Regions from separate parts of the Homo sapiens genome. Here regions 1 and 2 are each linked to region 3. The links are contacts of gene promoters, found by promoter capture Hi-C in human tissues and cell types (Jung and others, 2019). All regions are on one chromosome and are shown on one strand. The core of a region is centred on a gene start or on the middle of the fragment in contact, and the rest is flanking DNA. Distances in the headings are between cores, read along the strand shown.

The links. Contacts are between HindIII fragments. The study calls those that stand out against the background at their distance.
Region 1: a fragment that was not itself captured here is called in contact with the fragment with the promoter of FGFBP2 in region 3 in 1 of the 25 tissues and cell types used here (spleen).
Region 2: a contact is called between a fragment that was not itself captured here and the fragment with the promoter of FGFBP2 in region 3, in 2 of the 25 tissues and cell types used here (adrenal gland and aorta).

Annotation. Positions count from the first base shown.
Region 1 is chr4:15,553,731-15,556,882 of GRCh38, forward strand. CC2D2A (coiled-coil and C2 domain containing 2A) reads left to right here. Exons shown (of 37, transcript NM_001378615.1): 20 at 1,342-1,480. Among named protein-coding and RNA genes, the nearest start is that of CC2D2A, 85 kb to the left of the region's middle. The HindIII fragment of the contact is 4,032 bases long and covers 1-3,152 here.
Region 2 is chr4:16,241,898-16,244,783 of GRCh38, forward strand. All of the region lies in intron 2 of TAPT1-AS1 (TAPT1 antisense RNA 1), which reads left to right. Among named protein-coding and RNA genes, the nearest start is that of TAPT1-AS1, 17 kb to the left of the region's middle. The HindIII fragment of the contact is 5,377 bases long and covers 1-2,886 here.
Region 3 is chr4:15,961,876-15,964,983 of GRCh38, forward strand. It overlaps FGFBP2 (fibroblast growth factor binding protein 2), which reads right to left and starts at 1,300. Exons shown (of 2, transcript NM_031950.4): 1 at 563-1,300. The coding sequence starts at 1,254. The coding sequence ends at 583. RefSeq lists an enhancer at 1,330-2,171. The HindIII fragment of the contact is 18,537 bases long and covers 1-3,108 here.

The DNA of each region.
Region 1 (3,152 bases), core at 636-3,135, 410 kb before region 3:
ATATCCTTGAGTCTCTACTCAGAACAGAAGAAAGGCACTCTGGGCCTCACCCTAGGCCAGCCCCTCCCTGTGTTTGATGGTTGTCCCTGAAGCTTAGATTGTGGTAGCCCGTGGCCTGGGTCTTCCTCTGTCAGAGCCTCTCTCTGTCATTCCCCAGTAGATGTGTCTACAGTCAATCATTTCACCATTCCAGGCCTCAGTTGCCTCATCTCTAAAATAAAAGGATTCATTGTGATCATGAAGAAGACACTTTCCAAGTCACAGGCTGTCATGTTCAACTTATGGAAAAACAGAATTGGGCTCGTTTAGTTCCCTTGATGCCTTCAATCCCCATAACGACCACACATGTCCATGTGATAAAAACCACAAGGAGATGCTGCTATTTGCTTTCTAAGTCAGAAGCCACTTCCAGTGGAGGCCTGACTATGCCTTTGAATGTAAGAAGTCTGCATTCATTTCACTTGCATTTAGTGCTAGAAAAATCTCCTGGGGAGTAAAGCTTTCAACTCCTCAGAATAGAAGGTAAAACACAATGTGAGTAACAAGATATGCAGGACTATTAATAAAGCCCCAGCTCAACCTTGCTGACTACTGTGGCTTCCTTTGATCTCCAGGTGTCCAAAGCTGGTGCTTAAGTTTGTTGTTTAGTAGTTGGTTTTAGGCTGGGCACGGTGGCTCACGTCCATTATCCGACTATTTTGGGAGGCCGAGGCAGGCAGATCACATGAGGTCAGGAGTTTGAGACCAGCCTAGCCAACATGGCAAAACCCCATCTCTACTAAAAAAAATAATAAAATTAGCTGGGCATGGTGGCGCATGCCTGCAATCCCAGCTACTTGGGTGGCTCAGGCATGAGAATCATTTGAACCTAGCAAGTAGAGGTTGCAGTGAGCTGAAATCGCACCACTGCGCTCTAGCCTGGCCGACAGAGCAAGACTGTCTCAAAAAAAAGAGTTGGTTTTGTTTCTTTTTCTTTTGGTTTGTCCTCAGCTATAGTGGGCCCCAGTGGCCTGGGATGTGAGGCTTTGTGGGCTTCCAGCACCAGATACAGAGGCCCCTCTTCACTGGCCAGAATCCAGGGACCAAGGGGCACTTTTATGCACTGGACAGAGTTGTAGGAATTAGTCATATCTGCAGTCCTTCCATTCCTGTTTCTTTATTGTCCTTATGTTTAATAGCCATCATCATGTAAAGAAAAATGACAAAATCCTTCCTTATGATAACATTTTCTCTCATGGAGGATAATAGCTTCCTCAAGTCATGCTGTCTCTAGAATTTGAGGTCCTGATGCAAACTGTTCTGTGGTCAAGTCAGTCTCATGGAATCAACTCTTCTTTTCAGTGCTTTGAAGAAAGCAGATGCCATCTCATCTATTGGCACATCAGGACTGACAGACATGAAAAAATTGGCCAAGTGGGCAGCAGAGTCCAAGCTCGACCCAAATGACCCCAACAATGCCCCTTTGATGCAGCTTATCTCGGTATGTAGCAGGAGGCACACATGCCATTTCTTGACTTGGCCTTTTACACAATTTTCCTTTACACTATCTTCTCCTATGCAATACTGTTTAAGAACATGGGTGCTGGGTTGAATGCCAAGTTTGAATTCCAGCTGTGCTTCTTGCCTGGCTATGGGACCCAGGCAAGTATTCAGTGCTTCTAAGCCCTGTGCTGCTGTCATAGCGGGGTCATGAGGAAATGAACAGCTGCAGATAAACTCTTAGCTCGGCCGGGCATGGTGGCTCATGCCTGTAATTCCAGCACTTTGGGAGGCCAAGGAAGGAGGATCGCTTGAGCCCAAGAGTTCGAAACCAGTCTGGGCAACATGGCGAAACCCTATCTCTGCAAAAAATGTAAAAATGTGCTTGGCACGGTGGCGCATGCCTATAGTCCCAGCTACTAAGGAGGCTGAGGTGGGAGGATCAATTGAGTCCACAAGGTTGAGGCTTCAGTGAGCTGTGATCTTGCCACTGCACTCCAGTCTGAATAGAGTGAGACTCCCATCTCAAAAACAAACAAACAAACAAAACCCCTTTATCTGGGCACACAATTTGTGAGCAGTAAATATTGTTGTTGTTGTCACTCCTACCTCCAACCTCTGTAAAACTCCTAAAGGTTTTATATCCCCTTCTCCAGAGAGGAAGCTGAGTTCAGAAACTCAGCGTTATTTGCTTAAGGTCACTCAGCTAATAAGTCGATTTGATTTCAGGACACTTGCTTTTTTCATCACAACTTAAAGCACTGATGGGGCATTTTAGGGAAAATTTGTTTTGTTTTCTTGTTGTTGATTAATTAGTTATCATTTAGGTTTCACTTAAGTATTTACCAGATAAATTGCTCAGATCTACCATAATATTCAAAATTCTTTCTTCAATGAATTTGCAAATAAATTGGAACATTAGTTTATTTTTCTTGGTATCGAATACAATTGGTTTTATTGGCAACTTCATTATTCACACAAAGCCATAATAAACAAGTAGGTAATCCAGAGGGTAGCCCTAGCAACACATCCTTATGATCATGGCTATCAGTATGTGTTTATCAATAGGATAATTGTAGCCGGCATGAACATTTTCATTTTGGTTCTAGTTTTTCCAAGTCCCATAACAAACCTTGGTTTATTCTGACTTTTATCTTTATAAACTCTCCTAAAGCATGATACACCTTAGTGTGCCTAATAGAAATATTTGGAAGATTGGGTCATATTACCTAAAATGTAGTCTATTCCATGTAAAGTTTTCAAATCACATTTCAATAGACACGTCACTTTCATTATTTTCTTTTTAACTATATGTTTTCCCATCAAAGAACAAAACGGGGATTGCCTTCTTGACTGGTCTCTTGCTATGAACCAGGATTGCCTTTCCCATGCAAGGCCCCAGCACATCTTGGGGCACTAGCTTTTCCTCTGCTCAGGAGGAGGTTACAGCCAGCAAAGCACCAAGCAGAGAGGCAGGCAGCACCTGGGTGAGGTGCAGTCCACATCTGCTCAGCTTCTCAGAGGTGCCAGACTTGGCCTTCTTGAGACAATGCACAGGGGCCTTGGAGGCTGGCTGGGCTGGATCCATCTCTGGCTAACTTTTCTCAGTGACCAAGGCTGTGAGGTGCTATTCAGGGACAGGAAAGCATGGCTGTGGAGCCAAGTAAAGCTGA
Region 2 (2,886 bases), core at 105-2,604, 280 kb after region 3:
TTGGTGGATATTGTATAAAAAATAGCATCTATAACTAATCAGTCAGAATGCTGGATTTGTGCCCATACAATATATGAAGAACCTGATATATTTTCACAGTTGCATCCAGCCAATAAAACAGCCTGGTACCAACCTAACGGGATGTGGACACATCTCCAAAGCCTAGCTAGTCTTACCCAACTATATTCCCTATTTATCCTCAAATGAAAGAAAATTCCCTGTCTGTATTTTTAGTAATCAGACTTATTCCTCTCTAGAATATATTACTCCTCCATTTTGTGTTGAAACTGTTCAGATTAGCCTTTCCCAATGTAACCACACAAAATCCTCCTCTGCATATACCCATTCTTAATTCTATAATCCAGATAGATTTTCCTGAACTAGGTATTTCCCAATTCTATATCCAACAGCAAACTCTTCTTTTTATCTAAATTCAATAATTGGAAGTCTGCTTACCCCCTACTTCTTAAGGAAACTGGAGGGAACAGAACTGAGAGCCTCAAATTTTAGCATTACCCATGAAAGGAATGGGACTCTATTTCCAACGCACCACAATTTTGTGCAAGAATTGCCTGCAAATTGAATGACCATTTTGGATTAAAGTGGCTCCGAGTGTTCAGAGACAAAAAACCCTCTCTGCAATGAAACCATTAATCTTGGCTCATTTGTCCATAAAATATCTTCTCATAAGAGAAATTCATGCAGTGCTAAGCTTCTCACTACATGCAATTTTGGGTTTCACTCATTCGTCAGAGCATTGATTCCTTCCGTTGATACGTCTGAATTAGGAAAGGCTATTATAAATGTTCCCAGGACTTTAGAAAAAAGCTTTAATGACACTGCCACTTTTGTCTTGGCTTTACAAATGAGGTCTCTCCAACCTTGCTTCATTAGTTTTGCAAAATAGAGAAGTTCTGTATACCCTAACCACTCACTAGGGTGGTGCATGTGCTGTTAGTGTTGAAAACTGTAGCTTCTATGTTAATAAATCACGAATTGTTGCCCCAAATCTAAAAGATCTTAAAAGAAGAGATACAGGTTTTTCATCACAGAGGTGATGCTACACCTACTGATTTGTTTAGTTGACTAAATCGTGGCTCCTGGGAATCTCTGCTCTGGGAGATTTTTCAGTCCTTGGCGATTATTCTCTTTAAAGTCGTTGTATTTACCTTCCTAGTGCATGGTGTCCTATCAGGGGTTTTAAATGCTTTCCAGCAGCTACTCACATATCAAATGATTGCCATCAGGATCAGATAACTTGAGGAGCTCAACCACCTGACCAGTGATGGCTACAGAGGTGCTGATAACAGTGACACCACCACCCTTCCTTCCAGTGCAACTATGGACGATGAGAATGTCTCTATGACTCTGTCCCAGTGTCTACGTCAACTCCCTCAATGGCGATAACCAAGACGAATGCTATACCGTTTAATTACACTGTCAGTTTGCTGAGAGGATAAAGAGGATAACCAAAAAGGGGCAGTTGTAAAAACAAACTAAAATGGAGACTAGACCTGAAAAATCCCTCAGCAGACAAAGTGAGTTAGGCCTTGAAAATAACCTTAACGTTTTTTAAATTGCAAACATAAGCAAAACTTAACTTGGGCCATTACATGTAAATGCTTATATCAGAGGAAAACAAAACTTAAGCTCAATCAATCAGAAGCAGCCAACTAACTTAGGTAACTAGAGACTTTCTAGTGGGACAAACCAAATAAGGAAATTAAATATTCACTCAAACATTTTATTTTTAATTTTAAGAGACAAGGTCTCACTCTGTTGCTCAGGATGGAATGCAGTGGCGTGAGCATAGCTCAATGCAGCCTCAACTTCCTGGGCTCAGGTGATCCTTCTGCCTGAGCTCCCAAGTAGCTAGGATTAAAGTCGTGTGTTACCATACCTGGCTAATTTTTAATTTTTTTGTAGAAAAGGTGGCTGAAAGGGGGACAAAATAGGGGTCTTGCTATGTTGTGCAGGCTAGTCTCAAACTTTTGGCCTTAAGCGTTCCCCTTGTCTCGACATCTTCAGGTGCTGAGCAAATATTTTCTTTATTTCTGCATTCACTCTATAAAAGCCAGTTCCTTGTGCCTCTTTATGGAGCTCCAAACCTCTTCTGGTTTGGTGCTTCCCAACTCATGAATTGTTGTTTGCTCAGATAAACTCTAAGATTTGTATTGTGCCTCAGTTTTTCTTTTAACACTTTCTTTTAACAAAAACAAGTAGGGGTGAGGGCAGAAGGACAGAAGAGAGAGACAGAGAGAGAGGTGAGGGTGGTGGGGGGAGAAGGAAGATGACTGATTTTTAAAAAGATAATCTTTTGAACACGAACTTTCCTTTTGTTTTTTGAGACAGGGTCTCACTCTGTCACCAAGGCTGGAGTGCAGTGGCATGATCATGGCTCACTGCAGCCTTGATCTCCCATGCTTAAGTGATCCTCCCACCTCAGCCACCTGAGTAGCTGGGAACACAGACACACATCATGTCAGGCTAGTTTTTTATGTTTTGTAGAGATGGATCTCCCTACATTGCCCAGGCTGGCCTTAAACTCCTGTGTTCAAGTGATCTTTCTGCCTTGGCCTCCCAAATGAGATTACAGGTGTGAGCCACTGCACCCTGGCCAAGAACATTTTTGAAAGAAGACCTGGATACTTTAGGGAATTGGCTGACATTCCAAAGTGTTCTCTATTCCCTGTGGCTTTTGTGCCTTGTGAGAGGACTCTGAGAACTCACCAAATCCATTCCACAGCTATTGAATTAATGGGAGAACCTGATCAGGTTGAATGTCTGGTTTTGTCTTGGGAGGTGGGGCTGAGTGTCTTACACTTAGGCAGGATAGATTCTCCAGAAATGCCTCTCCATCATAGTCTGTTAATTTTTACTGATTTC
Region 3 (3,108 bases), core at 50-2,549:
AAACTTTCCTCAGTGCACAACACTCCCCACCCTAACTTGACTGTAGGAGAAAAAACTGAGAACAAGACGGGGTGTGGCGACACCTCCACCATGACATAGCACCTCGGCCACTAACAGCTGCAGCAAATGCTTGGTTCATTAGGAAACGTTACCCGGCAGAATTCCAAAGGCCTCGGTCTAACAGTGAGGTGGTTCCATCACAAGGAGATTCTCAACCTTGGCTGCACATTCAAATCACTTGGGGGAGAGTTTTAAAAGTCCACATTCCTGCGCTACTATGTTGGAGACATAGATGGAACGGTCTGGCGAGGGGCCTGGGCATCAGCATTTTTAGAGCTCCTTGTAGGTGATTCCTATGCAACTCCAGGGTCAAGTGCCACTCCGGATGAACTACCTCATCTACACTGCTCTGCAACAGACAGCCTCAAACCCACCCCCAAACACACGCTGAGACTCTGATGTGGTCGCAGCAGCTGTGAAAGTGCTAAGTGCCTCTCACGTAGTCTCTGTATATAAGTATATACACGTAGTCTCTGTATATGAGTAAAGGAAAGGGTATTACCTGTAGGGGTCTTTCACCTGTCACCCTCGGAAGAAGCTGATGAGAAAGGCGCACAGGGCCTGGAAGGGTTTCCAACAATGTTCCCAGGCCTTCTTCTTTGCTTCCTCATTCCCTCCGGGCCTGGGTCCAGGCTGGGTAGGTTTGGCTGTGGGTCGGGTGGTGGGTTTGGCTTTTCCCAGCTCTTCCATCGAGTCCTTTCCCAGCTGTGTTGCTTCTGTGAGTTTCACTGTGGCCTTGGGCCTCAGAGATGGCGTCCCAGCCTCAGGCTGCTGGTTGGGCTCTGGGCTGCCCTTGAGGCTGGAAGTCACCTGCTGCATATGGGCCTGGGGTCCAGCCTCCCTGCACACGGATGGCCTAAGCACCGGGGCCCCCTGGCACGCATGGTGAAGGCGCCTCAGCTCCTGCAGGGCTTGATTCCAGTAAGGTTTGGGGTCAGCAGCGAAAGCCTGGCACATGCTGGGCTGCCCCCTGTACTCACACCAGTAGGTCTGGTCTGTGTTGCGGCAGTCGACACGAAGCCAGACTTCTCCAGCACCTTGCCCCAAGCTGCTGGGACGCATAGTGCAGGAATCTCTCCCTCCAGTCTGGAAATGGAATTCCTCCCCAGTGCTTCCTTGCTTTTGCCTCGGGGCCTGACCCAAAGTCCCCAGGCAGGACAAGGTCACCAGCAGGAGGCAGGGGACGAACTTCATGGCGATACTCCGATAAACTTGCTTGCAACTCTGCACCAGGAGAGAGAACACAAGTGGGACGAGTCACCCTTTAAAGGGTGCTGCACAAAAGACTCTTTCTCTGCAAGGGTGGGGAGGATGTTTTGCAGCAAATGAGAAACATGCCCACAGACCTTAGACACGTAACACTTGGCAAGGGCAGAGCAGCCACCAGGGGCCGCCCACCACAAGCAAAGGGAATGGTTTTCCTGAGTGCCTCAGAGAGATCTGCCCCAGCCCTGTCACGCACAAAGCGCCACACACAGCTTTGGGGCTGAGGGTTTTACAGTTTTCCAACCACAGGGTGCTTGCTCTAAAATTGGCCCTTGTACGGGAACAGCCTTCTTTGTCAACATTTGGTATATGCCAAGGTGTGGCAGTGGTATTCTGGAAAGTGAGGTTTGCAGCTGGGAGTCTGGGCTGCCTCGAGGCTCCCTCCTGCTCCCTGGAATCCCCATCTTGGGGGACCATGGGTTTAGTTAATCCAAAGGAAGCCAGAATTTTATGAGCCTAAGTGTTATGAGATGGCCTAGCAAATGCAAAAAAGACTATGTGAGGTTGTGTGAGGATGTGTGTGCCAGAGGGACACAGAGACACTCCCCCTCCCACCCACCGAGCTGAGAGTCACCTGGTGTGGCCTCTGTGGGGCTGTCCCGCCATCACCGTGGCCACAGGCCACAGTGCTGCAATGTTCACTTCCCTTGTTATTGCATGCCTTACAATTGCACCAACTGAATGATGACGAGGAAGGCATGCAAATATATGTTCACAGTGGGATTCAGTCTATTTTAGACCATGAATTCTATTTCAAATTCAATTGAAATAACACAGTTTTAATTATATCACAGGAAAATATGATTTTAAATATTATTATTATTGTTCTACAATAGAAAAAAAATAAATTGAAAATAACTTTTGATTCTGTGTCAAGAATCATAGTTTGGTATGGTCATAACTGTCTTTTGATGACCCTTCCAGAGGGCACTGTGGAGTGGACTAAAGGTGGCAATTTGCTGTTAGGAATAGGGTTGACGGATGTTGGGGGACTAGTTTGAATGTGAGGGATTTATCTTGGCGATCCCACGTAGGGTAGTTGGTACCTGGCACAGCCTTCCTTCCACCTGGATATCCTGAGTCCTGAGAAGACCTAGTAGGGCTGGAACTAAAGCCAGGCTGAGCTTCGGCAGCCACTGTGTGTGTAGCAGTGAGAGCCTTCCAGAAGAGGGCATCACCCCAGGTGGGGAGCAGAGGAAGCTTCCAAGAAGTGGTGCCAAACCTTCAAGACAAGTCAGTCAATTTGTCAGGTTGAGAAAGGGTAAAGGGCAGGTGTTTTTTTTGTTTGTTTGTTTGTTTGTTTGTTTTGGCCTCATTCTGTCACCTAGACCGGATTGCACTGGTGTAATTATAGCTCACTGTAGCCTCCAACTCCTGGGCTCAATTACTTCTCCTGCCTCAGCCTCTCAAGTAACTGGGACTACAGGCATGGGCTGCCACACCCAGCTAAATTTTAAATTTAAAATTTTTAGGGACAGGGTCTCACTCTGTTGTCCAGGCCGATCTCACACTCCAGGCCTCAAGCAATCCTCCTGCTTCCTTGTCCTCTGGAGTCACTGGAATTACAGATGTGAACCACCACAACCAGCTAAAGGTAGGTTTTTTTTTTTTTTCACACAGTCTTACTTTGCCACCCAGGCTGGAGTGCAGTGGCACAATCTTGGCTCACTGCAACCTCCACCTCCCAGGTTCAAGCAATTGTCCTGCCTCAGCCACCTGAGTAGTTGGGATTACAGGCGCCTACCACCATGCCAGGCTAATTTTTGTGTTTTTAGTAGAGAT